Regions from separate parts of the Homo sapiens genome. Here region 2 is linked to region 1. Evidence: promoter capture Hi-C in human tissues and cell types (Jung and others, 2019). All regions are on one chromosome and are shown on one strand. Each heading gives the region's core, a stretch centred on a gene start or on the middle of the fragment in contact. The rest is flanking DNA. Distances are from core to core; before and after follow the strand shown.

Region 1 (7,032 bases), core at 1,068-3,567:
GTGGGGGTGTGTTGGTGAAAAGAAAAAATGCCTCCTCCTAACTTAACGTTTAACTGATATCCCCTCAACACGACCCAAATCTGTCTCTCCAGATACACAATGTCTGTTTTCCTAACTACATGGTGAACTGTGGAGCAAGTCTTGGTCATGTTTAGTTTGTTTCCCAGAATCTACTAGAAGACAATGCCTAGCATATAGCAGGCACAGAATAAGGGCCAAAGGGGAGAATGGAAACAAAATATGTACATTTGAAATTTAGAAACACAGTTAAGGGACTTTGCCTGAAATTGTCATAAAACTTTGAAAATTGCTTCAATGTATAGTCCCAGTGGGAGAATGTGACAGCATATTTTATTCTTTGTTCTTTTCTGAAATTCTGTGTCCAGTCTAAAACACGACATTTCCCTTTAATGTGTTAGGAGTATGCATGACTACACAGGAATATTTTCTGGAGAACTTCTGGTGAAGCATATTTTGATAAACAGTCTTACTAAAAGTTATATATATGTACTTTTAATTGACTAGTTGCAGAGAAATAATCAATGTAAAAAAAAATCATACATAGTACAGGTAGTAAAAGTCACAGTTCCGGCAGAAGCACAAAAGCCTTCAAAGTGAGTGGGAACCTGGGAACCATTGATCCTCAGTGGCTGTTTACCATGGAAAACACCTGCATCACCAACATTCCAGTTTTGCAAAAGTACCTCTATTACAGACACATACCAGGCAAGGAGGGAGGAAAAAGCCTGAAAATTTCTCTCCAAGTTTAAGTAATCAGGAAACTTTGGTGGGGAGGTTGGGGTGGGGTGGGGGCGGGGGGGTAACTTCTTTATTTAGCATTAATCTCAGCAATCATGAAAGTCATGGAATTTCAAGTGATGAAAAATTTGACCACAACAATACCTATCACTAGCCTGGTTTTGCCCACTTCTCGAACAGGAATTATAAAGATAATAATTAATTCTAAAAAGCAGAAGACAAAACAAACAAACCAAACCAACACTGAATGAACTAATAAGGCTGCTGCATATATATGTTGGAGTTGGATGTTTATTTGCTTACTGCAGTAGTTTAAAAATAGTTTTCCAGTTAACATCTTTTCCACATAGTGGAGATGTCAGGGTAGGTTTACATGATTGCGTAAATGGTCAGAAGTTGTTTATGTAGCTCTGAACTGCTGAGAGATGAGCAGGAAGACCTGGGTTCAGCAAAACCCTTGGGGCTTTTTCCCAGAGAGAGAAACAGAGGCTCCTCTCTGGGTTGCTGGAATGCTTTCCAGACGAATTCGACTGGGTTGGCTTTTCTCTGCCTGTCAAAGTCACTTTGCACAGTGCTGGTGAGGGGCTGGGGCATTGCTGCCAATCTCTACGGTTACCCCGAGGTGTGGAGTTGCGGCGAAGGGAGCCACTTCTGCAAGGAAACAGTAGATTCATAATGTAGAATGACCGTGGCAACGTCGTTCAAAGCACATTCTTTCGAATAACAAGGCTTTCGACATGCCCCACCCCCGCGCACAACACACCACAAATTGATCCTTGTACCTAATTTACAGCAACTGTTCCCTCTGACCTCCCCCCGCCCCCGCCCCACATTCCAACCTGAAAGCACTTTGCGTGGATGAGACTTCAGGTGTGTAACGCAGCCTGTCCAGCCAGTGTCCTCCGCCTAAGGACAGGCAGGTAAAAACCTACCAAAGCCCCCTCTTCTGGCCTAAGTTCAATGCCACCCGCCCACCCACATTCCCCGGTTCAGCAATTTTCAGCCCAGACGCAGAAGCATCTGTTTCCCTGGCCAGGGCGCCTTAACGATCCCCCGAATTCCGCGTCTCCCGGAGGCCAGAGGTTTGGGTACCCAGGAAGGTCGCGCCTCCTCGTGCCCCGATACTCGGGTTGTAAAGGGAGGAGACATCGCCTCGGCGCATCCCTGGCCGCTGAACAACGCAACCCCTACGTCCCCGCACGGGAATCCGGCTGATAATCTCCTCTTGCCTGAGAATCGGGCCAGGCGCCCTTTACTAATTTCGCGCGCTGGGGACCTGGGGCTGCCGCCTCTCGGCCGCGCGGGGCAGGTGCTGCGTCCCCAGCGCTCGCCTCCTCCGGCCGCGCACTGAGCATGCGCGGGCTCCGGGCCTCCGGCGCGTCTCCCCGTCCCCGCTCGTCTCCCGCCCGTTCCCACCCGCCCGCGCCTCTCCCCTTCCCCGAGCGTCTCCCCCGCCCCGCGGCTAAGGAGCCGGCAGCCCGAACTCCGGCGCGCCAGGTTTTTCCAGCCGCCGCGAGCGCCGGGAGGGAGGGCAGCGCCGCGCCAGACGGAGCCCGGGGTTCGACGCCAGGATTGGCTGCAAGTAGGGAGCTTTCGCCGCCGCCCCGGGCCCCTCGGACTGTGCCGGCGCCGCACCCGAGGCTCTCGCCAGCCCGGCGCCCCGGTGCTGAGGTAAGTGAGGCGGCAGCTGTGCGGGTCCGGCTCCTGCGTGGGCGCGCGATGCCCCGGGGACGCGGTCGCGGGTGTGGGGGGGAAAGGGCAGGGTCCGCGCGGGTTGCCCGAAGGACAGGGGCGCTTCCCGGGGCTCTGACTCCCGCGGGGCCGGGCAGCGTCTGCGGGGCCGTCCAGCTCAGAGCCCGGAAGCCCTGCAGGGTCGGGGAGCGGGAGCTGAACGCCTGAGCGCGGAGGACTCAGGGCCCCGACGACGCCACCGTCACCCCACAGCGACCCTTCTTCTCCTTCTCAGCCGGAAAATAAGTTTGTTGCGCTGCGAGGCAGCCACAAAACAAGGAACCGAGAGCCCGGAATGCTGCGGGAAGCCTTCAAGTCAGCTCCTCCGACTGGTTCGGGCTACTGCCCCCTCTCCGTGCGCCCTGGCCTCTGGCGCCGGGTTCCCGGCGGGGCTTTTCTTCTGACAGCCCAGTCACAGCCCGCAGCAGAGGGACGCGAACCTGGGGAGTGGAGGGACCTGGGACTAAAGGAACAGGAGCCCGTAGCCGTGGTGGAAGGAGCCGCGTGGAGACGGAGGCTGATGTCTGTGGCGCCCGCTGGGTGCCGGGCTGGCTGCTGAGCGCTGAGGCTGCGGCGGCGAGCGACAGGCCAGGTGCCTGCTCTTAGGGAAGGTACCTGGCTTCCCCAGTCTCTGCCGCGGGAGCCTGTTGGGTGGCATTCGTTTCCAGCAACTTCTGGGGGGTTTCCAGTTTCTTTCGAGAGGCAAGACAACCGCCCCGTCCCCTCCCCGGGCCCAGACGGCGGCGAACTGTGCGCCGGGCGCCCCACAGACCCCAATCCACTCACTCTCCTTCTGGAACGCGGGGCTCAAAATCTTCGTGCATTTTCTCTCTTGTGCTTCGTGTATATGTTTTACTATTTATGAAGGGTGTGGAGGTGAGGGTAGGAGGACGTGGGCTCCTGAATCCCTCTGAACCAGCCAGAGAGTCGGCTGCATGGAAACATTTCGCAGCGAAGCTCCTGCGAGGAGGCGGCTTCGCGCGTCGGGAAGATCAGGCGGTTGCTTGCTGGCCAGGGTCTGCAGATTCGGTGCGAAGAAGCTGGCGGAGGTTGTGTAGGGCGAGTCAGTGTGACTGAGCACCCTGGGTGTGTGGTCTGCGTGGAGGAGAGTGGGCCGGATCTTGAGGTGTGTTGGAGGTTTATTTGTAAGAGGAGTTCCTGAAAGGAATGTCGTGGAACTTTTTCTAGTTTTCCTGCTGGAATCAACATAGGGGCGGGCACATGTTTGTCAGAATAACAGTGGCATTTAACTGCATGGGAAGCTCTTTCAATTTTCTGTAGTGGGAGCTGGATAGTTCAAGGAGTAACTCCACATAACTGAGTCGTTTGGATACCCACACAAGATAATTTGGAACGCGCTTGTATTTTTTTGTTTTTTGAGATTTCTGGTTTATGTCCTTTAGAGAGTGGGGTAGGAGCGTAAAGACTGTATAGGTTGCCTATGAGCAGGTCCATACAATAGCGTTCCCAAGTCTGCCTAATAGCAAGTTTGTTCTCTCTTTCTCTCTCTCTACCCAAGTGGGTGAAAAAGAACAGTGTGTCATGAAGACAGGCACCTGGAGGTGATTTGGGTGGCATTCATGAGAAAATTCACGTTACCCGTAAGTTTATTCTTGCTATTTTTATCTTGATTTCTTTAAAGATTTTGTGGGAATATCTGCAGTGGGTCGCAGGAGTAGGTAAGATTGCTAAGGATCAAAAACAAGTTTCATGAGAATATTATTTTTGCTACCTTATAAAATAGCTATTGATTTGTTTGTTGAAGCTGGTTTCAACTGCTCTGTCTTGTTGAGGAGAGATGATGCTGATAAACGTCATTATTTTTCCATCTGAACCCTGGGAGGTAGCTGGCAAGGATGGAAAAACTGACCTTTTCAATTAAAGACTAAGAGTCTAAGAGAAGTGACTTGGATAAGGGTGCATGTCAGAGCCACATGTAAGTTTCAACAGAGGTAGATTTTCCTATTTGCAGTTTTTTAAACAACACTTTTCAGTTTCTTTGAGTTGTAAAACTTTTCAAGTCAATTGGGAGTCAATGCAGTACCTTTTTCCATGGTCATTTCATATTGGCAGGTAATTAAGAGTGATTAGAGAACAAACCTTTCAAATGATGTTGGATTTTTTATCATTCACTTATTTTACCTACTTCTCTCTCCTTTTTGTTCAAAAGTAGGTCTTCTGATTTCTTTTCCGATCTAAGCACTAAATCTTTTGGCTGCAGTTTTTCTTCTGAAATGTATACAGGGCATCCGTTCCTTCAATTTAGGTCTTAAAAAAATAAAGCTGCTCAGCAGAAAATTCCCATGCATGGTACTGACTTTTCTACAAGTTTGTCTGATCATGATTTTAACTTGTTGTTTCTTCTTTGTTATATTTGAGGACAGACATAATATGCATTAGCTTCAATCTCTCTTATCTTAAAAATTAATATTTTGTAAAAACTTGCTTTTATATTATTTTAGTTGAATAAGTCTATTTCATATGATAGGCAGGGGGAAGTCTCTACACACTGATTTTTTTTGTTCCTTTTTGTTCATTTTTCCCTGTAATGCTATGTTTTAAGCCTAGTGAAGGAGGCAAGGAGGCAGGATTTACTGCCTAGATTTATTGATCTTCATTATTATTATTATTTACTATCAGAAGAAATCTGACAACATATCAATAAAATTTATTTATAAACTGAAGACATGCTGTTATATGATACACTACTTATAAAACACACAAAGAAACAAAAAAGATGAATAAAGCAAAAATTATGAAATAGAAGGTCTCATGTTGCTGTTATGTATCCCGGTGGATCATTTTGTACAGCCCCTGGGGTGTGTAGCACACTTTAAAGATCACTGCTGGTTTGATATTTTTAAAATCTTTCTCTCCTTATCTCTGCTCTGCTGTTCATCATCTCTGATACTCTAGCCAGTTGTAAAACTGCTACACTTCTATATCTTCTGTAACAAATAGATTAAGCACACTTGTTTTCCTCTCATGGACTCATATGTGGATAGAATGAGGTGTAAAGGATGAATGTGTTTTGGAGATGTCATCTTAGATCTCCCAAAGTAGACATACAGGTGAATTTTAAAAAATGGAGTTTTAGTTTAAAGACTAAGTACCAATGGTCAGGAAGTGAAGAATCCAAGGAGTAAATGAGGGAGGATTGGAAGGACACTTTCCACATTGCAGTGTTGTGTGGAGGCTGGAAAGTTCATAAACCTTGAAGCAGATTAACCTGAATCTAAGTCTGGCACCATCATTTATTACATTTACAGTCCTGGGCAATGTAGTTCCTTAATTTCTGTGAGCCTTAGTTTCTTTAGGTATAAAATTGGGATAACATCTATTTCACGGCATCACGATAGGGATTAAACATGAGAGCATGAGTCAACATGGGTCAAGAGCTTGGCTCTTTTAGATTGGCTCTTTAGCAGATATAACAGATCCAAAAGGGATACTGCCTCAGATGTGAAATATATTTATTTCTCGGTTGTGTGAAGTCCCAGAATGGGTGATCATGGCAGTACTCCTTCAAAGTGTGATTCAGAGACCCAGCCTTCATCTGTTCTGTGCCCTTGCCGTCTTCAGCAGGGTCACTGTGCTTACTTGCATCAAGCCATTGGAAAGAGGAAGACTTGGGAGGATGTTAATTGCCCAGAACTGGAATGAGTGCATATTACTTTTCCTTGCATTGTGCTGGCCAGAACCCAGTTCTTTGTGGATGTACGTTACTATTAAGGAGGCTGGGAAATATAGTCTAGAAATGTTATCCAGGAAGTAGAAGAAATTGTTGGGGGAACAACTAGCATTCTCTGATGTTTTATTACTATATGTGATATTTCTTCCATGTTCAATAACTGTTACTTCCTTTTCTTCTCCTAACCCTTGCTTTTTTTTTTTTCTGGTAGAAAAACTGGAATGGATACAATAAATAATAATAGAAGCAGTTAATACATACATAATGCTTACTATTATTGAGATACTTTTTAAAGCACATTGCCCTACTTTGCCCTTCTAATATTATCTCTATTGTACAGATGAGGAAAACTAGGCATAGAGAAATTAAGTTATTTGTTCATCATAGCTAGTAAGTAGCAGAGCTGGGATCTGAACCAGGTTCTCTCACTCCAGAATTGATTTTTTAACAGCTTTTTTTTTTTTTGCTTTTGCCTCAATACTTTTCTTATTTAAGCCACTGGACCGCTTTTTACTTTTGCCTATATATAAAAAAGTTGCCAAGAGAATTTTTTAAAATACTAAAGTAGAAAAAAAGGATATAATCCAAAACATACTGGAATGGAATTAGATATGATACAGCTTTATCTTGAATACCTACCAGGATCAGGAGCAGATATTTAAAGTAACTCCCCCCACTTACACACCCTTCACCACTACAACTGCTCTTTCATTTGTGATAAACACATTTTCAGGGTCTGTGCCTTGAATTATAACCTTCCTCTGAAGATTCTATTGTGGGAGTCTTGCGCTACCACTTTCATGCTTCAGTATGTGAGGATAAATTCCTCTTCACTTCTCAGCAGAAACAAA
Region 2 (6,843 bases), core at 2,706-5,205, 45 kb before region 1:
TTCCTTTTCTAAAATAAGTAGTATAGCAGAGGTCAATGCTCCAAAACATTCAAACTGTTACCAATTACTTTACTTTGGAGTGAGTAAAACATCTATACCACAATGACTAGATAAAGAATGGGCTTAATCTTTCCTTGCCATCCCTTACCTCAGTCAACACAAGTTGTTGAAAAATGACTGATGAAAAAGCAAGGCTGAGAATGAAGCTAGGTCCTTCATAGAACCAAGATGTAGTTTGCAGTTGTTGAATTGCGCATTGATCAGGAATGTACAGTTACAGTCATATATTTCAGGTATAATTCCTATTATCCTGAAAGGAAGTAGTTAATCTGTCATTCCTGTTAACTGAAACTCTCTGCCACAGATGCTAAATAATTGTGAGCCTGCTTAAGAAAGAGATGGCAAAAACTATTTTGTGAATATAAATTTTTTAAAACACACAATTTTTATTTGCTTCATTAACTGCTACTTTAGGGGAGAGAAATAGGCACCCACTCTGTGAACTGATCATCTTGATAAGAAAGCTAATGAGACAGAAGCCACATCAGGTATTGTCAACTTCTTTTCCTGGTAATCAATACAAGAACAGCATCAGCAATCATTGATTATGTGTTTCCTGTGTGCCAAAGATTATGCTAAGAGACTCGTAGGGAGTATATAATTTAATCCCAACAAACCATATGCAATAATAGGATCATATAATTTTGCAGATAAGGAAACAGTGATGTAGAGAGGGTTCCTGGCCTGCCCAAAATTACCCCATGTTATCCCAGCTATAGGGTTGTCCGACAAAACATCAAAAAAAAAAAAAAAAAAAACAGCTACATTAGAATTCAGACAAATGACAAATAAATTTTAAATATAATGTCCCAAATATGTAGTATAAGTATGCATAAAAGAAAATTTGCCCTGGACCATTTAAACAGGCAAGAAATACTATTCATGACTATTGCAATGGGGAGAGAGACTATTTCAATAGGGAAAAGAGACTGAACAGAATTGGGATGAAACAAAAGAAGAGTTTTTAATTGCTGGGTGAGCTAGCAGAAAGGTACTAGAGAATGCTGGGAGCAGGTTGTTCAATGTGACTAGGCCATTTGTGTTTGCTAATTGGTGCTTATTAAAATTAGGCCTCTGCCCCCTCACAGAGACTGGGAGATATAGACCCTAACTTTCCTAATAATCACATTTCAAAGGGATAGCTCTCAGGTCCTTGAGAACGACATTTCTGGGATATAGAAGATTCATATATCAAAGGGGTAGAAAACTAATGTGCAATTTCAAGCTTTCTAAAGTAAATGCTCTTAAGAAAATGAAGGTCAAGGGCCAAGAGTCAGGAAGAAAACTAAAGTTTAGTCAAGCTAGAGAATGTTGAGGTCATCCTGGTCATGTGTCCCAAATATTATACAAAATATAATTATACTAAAAAAAAATTTGCTAATCTGAAATTCAAATTTAACAGGGCATCCTGTATTTCTATCTGCTAAATCTAGCAGCCCCATACAACGAGCAAGTTGTGGAACCAGTACACTGCATTGATTTGCTCCTGAATTCCTCCCTGGCATATAAAAGCTTTTGATTCAGTGTTTGGTAAATAACCAAAGTTTCCAGACTCTGTTTCCATTTTCTATTAATTCTCTAACTATCCCTATGTGTATGTTCATTTTGTTTAGAGAGAATATGAGGATTATTGCCAAGTGGGAGTGGGAGGCAGGCCTCAAGGCTGAATCAGAGCACAATTATTCCTTCAAGGATTATACAGAGAAGAAATATTTTCACTACTTCTCTACAGAGCACTTATAGCTCTGCTGTGTTACCTTGACACAGAGGAAAGCATAGCAAGTATTAAAGCCTCTAAACCAGCAATTATGTGCCCAAAGAAAAGATACTTCTGTAGACCTTCATTTTTTAAATTATATTCTTCATATATGGCTAAAGCTTTTCTTTAGTTGTGAGAAAACTTGCCCCTTCTTGTTTCAAAAAATTAAAAATCTAAAAAAAAAAGAATCCACACAAACTAATACAAATTCCATATTAAATTGTAGTCATTATGTTTATCAATTACACACAAAGTAATTATCAAATAATCATGTTTTAGCGGAATCTAATCTTTTTCATTGTGTTGAAGGAGGAATCCATCACTTTTGTTGTTGTGCACTTATCAACAATAATTTTTAATATTTTTCAAATGCTTATTTAGCATCTGCACAGGTGATTAAATTATTTTTTCCATAGATTTCTTATCAAACAGAATCATACTAATAAGTTCCTAATATTAAGCCATTCTTGCATTCCTGAAATAACCCATACTAGATTATAATGTGGCATGATTTGCAAGAACTGCTTAATTTGAGTTATAAATATTTTATTTTAGATTTTTAATAAATAATAAAATAATACATAAGATTCTTGTGTTTAGTACAATCTTTGTCAGGTTTTTATATCAATAATACACTCAGTCCCTTAAGATAGTTTGTAAATGTACCTTTATTTTTTACATGCTGTAATAAATTAAAGAGCATTACAATTATTTAAAAATTTGATTAAACCCCCTACGTAACCATCTGAGCCTGAGGTTTTTGAGTGGGATCTTCTTGATAGCATTCAATATTTCTTAAATGAAAATAGATTAATTTGAATTATTTTTTAAAAGTCTGTTTTGATAATTATATTTTCCTATAAAATTATACATTTCATTCAGGTGTCTAAATGTATTCATACAAATAATAATATTAATTTTCTTTTCTCTCTTTTTAAATTATTTATTTTTAGAGATGTAATCTAGCTATGTTGCCCAAATGCCAGGGCTCAAGTGATCCTCTCACCACAGCATCCCACATTTTTCTTTTTGTGATTAGTCAACCGTTTATTTTACTGTTCTACTCCCAAAATCTATTTGCATATTGCTTTTACTGTTTTTAAGTTTTCACAATAATTTATTTTTGCATTTATCTTTATTATAAATTCCTTACTTAGACCTTTTATTAGTGTATTTTATTTTTTCTAATTATTTTGCATCTGACACTTAATTTATTTGTCCTTATTCTTTCTTTCTTAAAAAAATGAATATAAGTTTTAAGGTTTTGAGTTTCCCTTAGAGCATTATGTCCCTTGGGTTCTGATAGATATTATTTTTATTTTTCTCTGTAAATCTTATTCTCCAGTTTTGGTTTTTCCTCTTTGAACTAAGAGCTGTTCGAAAGAGAGCATTTAAATCCCTCAGTGGAAGAATCTTTTGTGGGGGACTGATTTTGTTTGTATGCATAGATTTTCTGCACCATCATGGGAATATTATCTGTATTTTTTCACTTTCATAAATTTATTGAAATTACTTCTGGCGTAATATTTGGTTAATTTTTATGAATGTTCCATCTGCTCTTAAAAAGAAGATATATTTACATTTGTAGGAAATTGAACATTATTTATACACTATTAGTTAGATCAGCCTCTTAAATTATTTTTTTTGGGTAGTTGCTATAGACTGAATGTTTGTGTCCCACCCAAAATTTGTATGTTGAAACTAATCTTCAAGATGATGGCTGATGGTATTTGGAGGTGGGGCCTGTGGGAAGTGGTTAGCTCTTGGGGGAAGGGTGGCTAATAAATGGGAATAGTACCCTTATAAAAGAGACCACAGAGAGCTCCCTTCCCCTTTCCACCATGTGAGGACACAGTAAAAGTACAGCTGTAGAGATAACAGGAAGCGTCCCTCACCAAACGCCAGATCTGCAGCACCTTGTTCTTGGACTTCCCAGCCTCCCAAACAGTGAAACAGTGAGAAATAAAGCTCTGTTGTTTGTAAGCCACCAAGTCTATGATATTCTGTTATAACAACCCTAACTGACTAAGCCAGCTGCCAACACTTACAGTTTGTCAACTTCATTTGTCACAATCTGAGTATATTAGCCAGCTACTATTGTTTCCATTTATCTTTATATTTTTATAATTTTCTCTAGTACAACTTTGAGATCATGAGCTATTGGCCATTTGAGGTTTGTAAGGTATATGTACAGATGCATCTACATATTAATGTTATGTGCCATGTTCATGATAGGGTACGTTGTTTCTAAATTTAACTTTATTTTCTCCAAATTGCAGTGTGTATATTATGAGGTAAAGAAACTGAATAAAATAAAATCATGTCATTCTCATTACTCTACTGATTCTCTAATAGACAACAAACCTTATCTGCCCCTATCATATTAGAAAAATCCTGTGAGTACCTTTTAAACATTTCTATGCAACCAGGAGCAGATTTTCATAAGACCTGGTCTTTTTAATAGCTTTTTCACAAGAAAACTGGCTTTTACATCAGTAATTTAAATACTAAGTTCACCCACATTTTCATGTTTTCTTGGTGTGTGAAAAGTGGGCTTAAACTCCTCACATGACTTCTACAGAGAAGGAAACAGAGAGAAACCAGTCTCTCCTGACCTGAAAAACGAAGTAGCCACTGGACTGTGGGCGTGAATTGTTCTAAAGAATTCAGTGCCTTGTCACACTGTTCTGCCTGGTCCATCTTTGAATAAAAAGTGCCTAAGCAGAGTTTCTTTTTCTTATTATTATCTGCTTGCTACTCTTCCCCCAAATCAAACTAACGTGTATTCTAGATCTCTAAATTACTTGCTCCTTCTTCAGAGCCCTCAGCCACTCAATCTGTTACCTCCTTTTTCAAGCTGTATTTTTTCTTTCTTTTTTTCTAAGTAAACCTGACCCACGAAGTCTTTCTTCATATCTTCAGATTTTAGCATTAATAACAAGTCTTCTCCGAAGAAATATCAAAGAGCTTTACATTCTATTAATTATTCTCCTCATGTTTTCATCTCCTTCCTGTGTGATAGTTCCTCATATTTAGACAGTCATATAATAAATGTTAAACTCCTTGAAGAAAAGGAACATGCACTTCAGCAAAATGACTAGAACATTCTTTTATTCCAGTGAAACTGAAAAAAGAAAAAAAAAACTATGTTTCTACAGTTACATGTATCAGCTATTAATATTCTAATCACAGATTTTGAAACTAGAAAAGAAATATCATTGAGTCAAATCCATGTATGTTAAAGTTAACGAAGCTGATCCACAAAGGGGGGAAATGATTCTCTTAATACCTAAAACAACTCTATCATTGTTCAGTAGCCTATTTCTTCAAACAATATTTCTACTCATCATTTATATTATCCCTGCATAAGGATAACTTCCTAGGTTTGTCCTTCAGTCATTTGAGCTACAGATCCAGGGAGGAAAGAGTTGTATGTTTTGTAAATCTGACCACTGAGCTTCCCTCTAAATGGGGAGTGGCTTGGGTGACCTGAGAAAAGGGTTACATTTGTATAAATAATGTGCACTAATGGTGTTCATGCTGCTAAAAAAATGCTCCTGCTTTCAAACTATGCTGCCTGGAGAGCACAGGTGGATTTGTGGATTAGCTGTTTAAATATTTATGAAGCTATTTAGACATATTTTATTTATTGTAAAAATGTTTATACTATAATTATTTCAAGAATTAAGCTTTCACATGCTATCAGAGGCTTAAACTAAAATCTAATTATTCTCAATCATATCCTCCTAATGCTAGGTCATGTCCAAGTGGCAAAGGGTGAGAAAAGTTCTTTAATGGATATTTGTTGTCATAAACTTATTGATCAATCAATCAATCAACTCATATTTTCAAAGCATCTCCTTTGTGACAATCTTTGGAGAGATGTGTTGGGTACTCTAACACAGACTTACAATGATAGTAAATACATTTACTACTTACAAAGTATCAGGAGCTGGCATACATTAACTAATTTAACACAAAAGATAATCATTGAAGTAGGTCCTATTATCATTCCCTCTATATAGATGAAGAAACAGTCATTAGATTTTAAGAACTCAATGTTAATTCGAAGGCATAGGTTATTAGTGTAAGTACAACCAACAACTCTTGATAAATGTCAAAGTAGGATTGAGAATCAATTAAAGACTTATGAGAGTTGCAAAAATAAATCACACAACTGAGTGATTAAAATACAAAGAAATCAGATATCTGTAAAGTCGTGACCTATGTACCATACTTGGCCATAGTCAAATGTATATTATGTAGCTCACATTTTGATGCATTTAATTATCTCCCAAAATTGAATAATCAGCAGACTTCACATAAAATACCAGATTTCTGGCTCCTCGTATAAAACAAAAAATTAGAAGATCTAGAAGCTCTTGCTTCACATTTTCATATGATCACAGTCAGCTGGATCTAAGTACCGTTTACATGTCTTAGGTTAGTATTTACTCTCCAATTTACCATAATCACCACTGCTCTCTAATGTCTCTTAGAAGGAGCCTAACTCACTCAGATATTCTGCTCTCCTGGCTTATGTAGTCAAATGTGCTAATGTACATTGCTTCCTTATCATTACTGGGAGCAAGATGTTATCGGACATGTGAAATGAACATACCATTATTTTCCCTGTCCAGAAGCTAATGGTCCCATTTAGTAGAGAATAAAAAGAATAGCTCAGAGCAGGCTCTCAGTTTCATTCGTGTATTCACTAATAGTGCATCCATGAGAATTAGATATTATTCCCCTTAAATATACAGGGACCATATAGTCTTTATCATTCATACATGACACTTATTTCTCAGTGTGGGTGTGGGTGTGTGTGTGAGAGAGAGATACCTGCACATGGACATGTGATTACTAGCCTAAGGCCAACAAATACTCTTGATTAGGATGTATAGGTCAAACAAAATTTTTAAAAGCTCATATTATATGACTTCAAGGTTGTTAACCTAATCATTTCATGGTAATTAGAAACCCTAATTGACAGCTTAGATTTATTTCTTAAAAACCTAAATAAA

The links. The method cuts DNA at HindIII sites, captures the fragments that hold promoters and counts their contacts. A contact is called where the count stands out against the background at its distance.
Region 2: a contact is called between a fragment that was not itself captured here and the fragment with the promoter of CNTN4 in region 1, in 2 of the 25 tissues and cell types used here (aorta and neural progenitor cells).

The regions. Positions count from the first base shown.
Region 1 is chr3:2,096,549-2,103,580 of GRCh38, forward strand. It overlaps CNTN4 (contactin 4), which reads left to right and starts at 2,318. Exons shown (of 25, transcript NM_175607.3): 1 at 2,318-2,430; 2 at 4,010-4,091. LOC124909338 (a long non-coding RNA gene) reads right to left here and starts at 1,707. Exons shown (of 2, transcript XR_007095785.1): 1 at 1,599-1,707; 2 at 1,033-1,410. The HindIII fragment of the contact is 20,122 bases long and covers 1-7,032 here.
Region 2 is chr3:2,050,400-2,057,242 of GRCh38, forward strand. No RefSeq gene overlaps it. Among named protein-coding and RNA genes, the nearest start is that of CNTN4, 45 kb to the right of the region's middle. The HindIII fragment of the contact is 5,054 bases long and covers 1,429-6,482 here.